Linked DNA regions of Homo sapiens: region 2 is linked to region 1. Evidence: promoter capture Hi-C in 16 types of primary human blood cells and fetal thymus (Javierre and others, 2016). All regions are on one chromosome and are shown on one strand. Each heading gives the region's core, a stretch centred on a gene start or on the middle of the fragment in contact. The rest is flanking DNA. Distances are from core to core; before and after follow the strand shown. Region 1 holds the start of ATG9A (autophagy related 9A). Region 2 overlaps STK36 (serine/threonine kinase 36).

What was found. The method cuts DNA at HindIII sites, captures the fragments that hold promoters and counts their contacts. A CHiCAGO score of 5 or more calls a contact.
Region 2: a contact is called between a fragment that was not itself captured here and the fragment with the promoter of ATG9A in region 1, in 3 of 17 cell types (naive CD8 T cells, activated CD4 T cells and total CD8 T cells). The highest score is 5.7, in naive CD8 T cells.

What each region holds. Positions count from the first base shown.
Region 1 is chr2:219,228,242-219,231,156 of GRCh38, forward strand. ATG9A (autophagy related 9A) reads right to left here and starts at 1,395. Exons shown (of 16, transcript NM_001077198.3): 1 at 1,294-1,395; 2 at 193-244. It overlaps ANKZF1 (ankyrin repeat and zinc finger peptidyl tRNA hydrolase 1), which reads left to right and starts at 1,565. Exons shown (of 14, transcript NM_018089.3): 1 at 1,565-1,659; 2 at 1,987-2,164. The coding sequence starts at 2,017. RefSeq lists enhancers at 335-883, 884-1,431, 1,432-1,979, 1,650-1,759 and silencers at 1,110-1,159, 1,370-1,499. The HindIII fragment of the contact is 5,267 bases long and covers 1-2,915 here.
Region 2 is chr2:218,672,103-218,675,017 of GRCh38, forward strand. It overlaps STK36 (serine/threonine kinase 36), which reads left to right. Exons shown (of 27, transcript NM_015690.5): 1 at 1-113; 2 at 639-811; 3 at 1,523-1,663; 4 at 1,777-1,854. The coding sequence starts at 728. Among named protein-coding and RNA genes, the nearest start is that of STK36, 1.5 kb to the left of the region's middle. The HindIII fragment of the contact is 1,099 bases long and covers 949-2,047 here.

The sequences.
Region 1 (2,915 bases), core at 145-2,644:
CAGTCTGGGTGTCTACTGCTGCTTTCCTGGCCCAAAGCCAGAATCTGTCCCTTTGTTGGGGGCTGTTTCATCTTCTATTTAACGGACAGAAGAGTCCCTCCCCCGCCCATCCTGGGAACCCTGGTCTCCCAAGAGACTAACAGTTTGGAAGCACTTCACAAACAAATGTTTGAGAAAAGCACATGGCCCTACCAGCTCCATGGACAGTATGTGCTCCTCTCCAGCCCTCGATGCTCTGCAGCTGCTGGAGGAGAAGATGTCAGGCCCCAGAGAGTGGGCAGTGGGGATAAAAAGGAACCCAACCCTCCCAGCCATCCACACCCCACCAAGAGGAGGCCAAGCATGGGGCAGGAAGGCTGCAGTGGGGAAGAAGCACCCTTCCAGCCCAGGACTACGAGCACTTCCTCTGGCTGTGCTAAACCGGGCCACTCTTCCAACTCCAGGGTCTCAAGAAGTAACTTAGGGACCCCATGGAGAATGAGTGGGTACAGACCTGAGGCCAGGGGCGCCTCTGGACTATTTCTCCATTGCCCTACCTTAGCCTCAGAAATGACATACTTCTCAGGGTCCACAAAACCTCAAGAGTCTTTCCTGAAGAGGACCTTTCTGGTCAACCCCTTCTCTTACTTCCCTAGCACCAAAGATCCAGCCGGTGAGCAAACCTTCTGGATGGGAAACCTTGACTGGGTCAGTGTAGACCCCCGATCCTAGGTGAATTTGTGGGTTCCCTAGGTCCTGTAAGCCAGGCATGGTCGAGGTGGTACTCACCTGTCCGTGCAGCCCCTGGGGGCCGTGGATCTTGGCCCAGCCTGGCCCCGGTGGGATTCCCTGGGCTAGTGAGAGCCCTGCCCCTCAGGGAAGTCACCACTCACAGGGTCAGTGTGGACCAGGGCCCGTGGAGCCCCGGCCGGCTGGGCCTGGGCTCAGGGGTTCCTGCGGATGTTGCAGGGATCGAGTCAGCCTTACAGCTGATAGCCCGGGTGGGTTGGCTTGCCTCCCCACACCCAGCCGCGGCGACCGTGGACCGGAGTCCACCTCGCCCCAGGGTCGCCCGGCCCCAGGCCAAGGGCTGGCAGCTCCCAACAGCGGACAACCTCGCGCGCGGCCCCGGCGCCCGCGCGCGCCCCCGTCTGCGCGCGCCAGCAATCAAAACATTCCGGCTGCGCGCCCCCGCCCCGCCGGCGGCGCCCCTTCCTCCGTTACCCGCCGCGAGCTCACTTAGGGCTCCGCAGGCACCCCTGGGCAAGGCCAGACACGGGGCCTGGGATTCCAATAACCGGTCTCACGTCTTACCTCAGGAACAGCGACCCGGGTGATTCCAGAGGCTCCGCCGGCTCCGCTCGGCTCGGCTCGGCTCGGCGCGACCCGCGGCGCTAGGCCGGGTGTCTGCCACTCACTGTCACCCGCAGCCAGGCTGGCCAATAAGCACGGGGGGCGGAGACACAACGGCCAATTCTCGGCTTCAGGGACGGGACTAAAGTCTCGAGGCGGGTCTTGGACAGTCAGCGGCCCAATAGTGTGCTCTACGTGGGGCGGGGCTCAGGTGCGGACGCCGCCGGTTGTCCTCTTCGCTGCTCCGTAGTGACGGGGATTGTTGTGTTGCAGAAATCCGGCAATCGACCTGAGGACTTGCGAGCCGCTCAGCTCCCGGGACGTTTGGTGCGTCTTCTAAGGGCGTGGGCGAGTTTACGCGGGCCAGTTGTTGCTGGTCGCATGGGTAACGAAGAAAGTTCGGCTAGGCAAGCTCAGTGATTTTTAACTCTGTTGGACTCGATTTGGGAGCCGAATGCCTATTTCATTCTTTTGTGGGCTGAGACTGGGGGTTTGAGAAAGTGGACGGGGGCCAAGGTATTCATCTCACAGTTGGTAGCAGGATGAGAGACGAGAAGTCTTGCGGTGCAGGAGAAACCAAGTCAGGCAGGCAGGAGACGCAGCAGTAGGATCTCGTTTGCAGGAGCCCTGTTTCTTACACGCTTTCTACTCCAGGAGCTGCTGCTAAATAATTTCTGCTCAGCCATGTCGCCGGCTCCAGATGCAGCCCCGGCTCCTGCGTCGATCTCCCTGTTTGACCTCAGCGCGGATGCTCCGGTCTTTCAGGGCCTGAGCCTGGTGAGCCACGCGCCTGGGGAGGCTCTGGCCCGGGCTCCGCGTACTTCCTGTTCAGGTATCCTGGAAGGTTTCGTGTGAAACGTGACAGGGCTCCTTACAGCGTATTGCCCGTTCAGGGAACACATTCTTATTGGTATTCCCGAGCTTAGGAGGCCAATTGATTTATCTTTCTGCTTGATTAAATTCACTTAATCTCTGGGTAATGTCCAGCACAGCCCTTGTTTTCAAACAAGTCTTTTTGCCATTGCATGTATCTCCTCACGTTAACACCATTCCCTTCAAAAACACTTTAAACTTTGTAGAGATAAAATTCTCAGATGTATTCCACATTTAACCAGGCCCCACTCAAATTATTCCTTTTTGCTGAATATGAAACAATTTATTATTTGTTTCGTATAGCTTTATTTTTTGAGAGTCTCGCTCTGTCGCCCAGGCTAAAGTGCAGTGGCACGATCTCCACCCACTGCAATCTCCGTCTCCCGGGTTCAAGTGATTCTCCTGCCTCAGCCTCCCGAGTAGCTGGGACTACAGGCCCGCACCACCATGCCCGGCTAATTATTGTATTTTTAGTAGAGACGGGGTTTCACCATGTTGGCCAGGCTGGTCTCAAACTCCTGGCCTCAAGTGATCCGCCTGGGTCAGCCTCCCAAAGTGCTGAGATTACAGGCATGAGCCACCGTGTCGGTCCTGTTTTGTGTAACTTTAGTTTGGCTACATCTTTTCTTGCACCTCTCCTTAGACAAACTGTACACTAATTGGAAATGTAAACTTTAAAAAGCATTTGGGAAGTAGTTTTTGTGCAGTGA
Region 2 (2,915 bases), core at 248-2,747, 560 kb before region 1:
CTGAGGCAGTTCGGATGTGTCCCAGGAAGTGCCCATGTGTGGTCCGCCGTCCATTCCACACCTCTGAGCGCCTTTGTCCTCTGAACTTCTCACCAGTTCTAGCGAGTAAAATTGTAAGAAAGGGAGCCGAAAGAGACCGGAGGGAGAGGCGGGTGGAGAAGAATTATAAGTCAGGCAACGTATGCAGGCAGCCAGAAGAGATGGGGCTAAACGCCAGGGAATCCGTCCCTTGGCCTGAGGAGCTTGGAGCTCCTAGGCTGGGGGTGAGAGAGGGGCTCTGGCCTGCGAAGCGCACGGGCCAGGGGGTCTGAGAGCGGGTGCTGAGGAGTCTGGGAGTGGCAGGAACTTGGGGGAGACTCAAAGGAGCAGGGTTGGTTGGGCGAGGCTAGGTTGAAAGAGTAGGGTCGAGTGAGCCAGGCTGGGTGAGGGAGAAGGGGAACCAGGTGTTAGTTGGGCATGGGGCCGGGTTGGGGACAGGAGGATGAAAGTGGGGAGGAACTACAAAGAGAAGCTCTGTTTGTTCCAAGAGCGCATCATCTTTGCATGCATTCCACCCTCCCATGTTTTTTGAGGCTTTATTGTGAAAAAGAGGAAAAGGCAAGGTGGCTAACATTTTTCCTTTCCCGTGCCCCAACTAGGCGTCCCAGATGTTGTGGAACTGTCCCTGGATCTATAGCTCTTCACCGTCTCTACTTTCTTCCTTCTAAGAGATCCTGAAACCTCTGTCATGGAAAAGTACCACGTGTTGGAGATGATTGGAGAAGGCTCTTTTGGGAGGGTGTACAAGGGTCGAAGAAAATACAGTGCTCAGGTGTTGCACAAAGAGGGATACCTTTTGGGTGGGATTTGGTACCCCCAACTCCAGTGGAAAATGGATCTAGAAGGAATGTATTTATACCAGTTTGTATTCCTAAGGTACTGACTCCCTCATACTTCTTATGGAGTATAAGCTTTGAAGTTGGATTATTTGGGTGCAAATTCCATCTCCACCGCTTTCTAGCCCTAGAATTATGGACAAATTACTTAACTTCCCTATGTCTCAATTTCCTTATCTCTAGAATGGGGATAAGAACAGCAACTGATTGATGGAGTTTGAGGATTAAATATGTTTTCACATTAAATCACTTAGTACAGTGCCTGGCTGTTAGTAAACAACAAATATTATTAGTCTCTAGCACACCATGTAATAAGAGGTAAACCACTTGAACTCTATTATTTCCTCTTCATTTTTTTTTTCCTTTCCTTTCTCCTAAATCTCATCTTGAGTGCTGGTCAAATCAGAACACTTCTTCCAGAAGGGGAAATGTTTTGCAGATGCTGTTTCCTCCTGGGATGAGGAATGGGGAAAGCCTGGATAAGGCCAGGGTACCATGGAGAAAATGGAAGCGGGAGACTAACAGAAATAATAAGAGTTACTCAAACACTCTAAAATCTGACTTCTGGAGCTCTGAGATTAAGGCTGAAATTCTAGATCTTTTCAGTAGTGTGATTAGGCGTTAACTTTTCACCTTACCACTGACAGGTCGTGGCCCTGAAGTTCATCCCAAAATTGGGGCGCTCAGAGAAGGAGCTGAGGAATTTGCAACGAGAGATTGAAATAATGCGGGGTCTGCGGCATCCCAACATTGTGCATATGCTTGACAGCTTTGAAACTGATAAAGAGGTGTGCTTTGACAGTTTTGGGCCCTGTCTCCCCAAGCACAAGGGTTCCAGGAATTTCCCAACCTCAGAATGCATGAATCTGGAGCCATCAGTGCCACTGCCTTCTCTCTGTAGGTGGTGGTGGTGACAGACTATGCTGAGGGAGAGCTCTTTCAGATCCTAGAAGATGACGGAAAACTTCCTGAAGACCAGGTATGCTTTCTGCCTTCAACTTCTCCCCACCTCCGACCTCTCTCCAGGTTAGAGAACTGGTAGAGCAAGCTAAGGACACTGAGAGTCTCCATTTCAAAGACTTCTGAGAAGAATATAAGAGTCTAGGTATATAGAGGCAGTGTAGTGTGGGAGTAAATTATGTAAACGTTGGAGTCAAAATATCTGAGCAGGAAGCTTGGCTCTGCTCCTTCCTAGCTGGGTCTCATTGGACAAGTTACTTTAATTTCTTTGTGCTTAGTTTCCTAATTTGTAAAATGGAGATAATAATCATGTTTGCCTGATAAGTCTATGATGAAGAGTGTTAAGTCATGTAATGTGTTTGAATAGTTAGCTATTATTAACATTATTGTTATTAGATACCTTTAGGGAAGAAGGGCCAGTGTAATGGTACCAGAAAGAGGGCAGTAAGAATAAAGGTTGTGGGGAGTCAGGATTTGGCACCAGGACGTAGTGGTTAGCAGTGGGATTTTGTTGCACATATCCTCCAGCCACATTTATTCTAGGCGTTTGTCTGTACCCAAGCAAGTAGGCCCCCCCTGGGATTCATTATTGCAGCATTCTCTTTCCTTCTGAGCACTCACCACTATTTGTAAGTAATCATATTTTTGAAATTATTTTATTTTTAATTGAATTTTATTTTTTGAGACAGAGTCTCGCTTTGTTGCCCAGGCTGGAGTGCAGTGGCACAATCTTGGCTCACAGCAAACTCCGCCTTCCAGGTTCAAGCAATTCTCGTGCCTCAGCCTCCCCAGTAACCAGGATTATAGCATGCGCCACCATGCCTAGCTAATTTTGTACTTTTAGTAGAGATGGGGTTTCACCATGCTGGCCAGGCTGGTCTCGAACTGCTGGCCTCAGGTGATCTGCCCGCCTCAGCCTCCCAAAGTGCTGGTATTACAGGTGTGAGCCACCACGCCCGACCACCATATTTGTTTTATCTGTCTTGTTTGTTTGTCTGACTACTTTTCTTGAAAAAAGGCATTTTGTCTTATTTAATAACAGGTAATGTGTATTGAATATTTACTATGTGCCAGGCACCA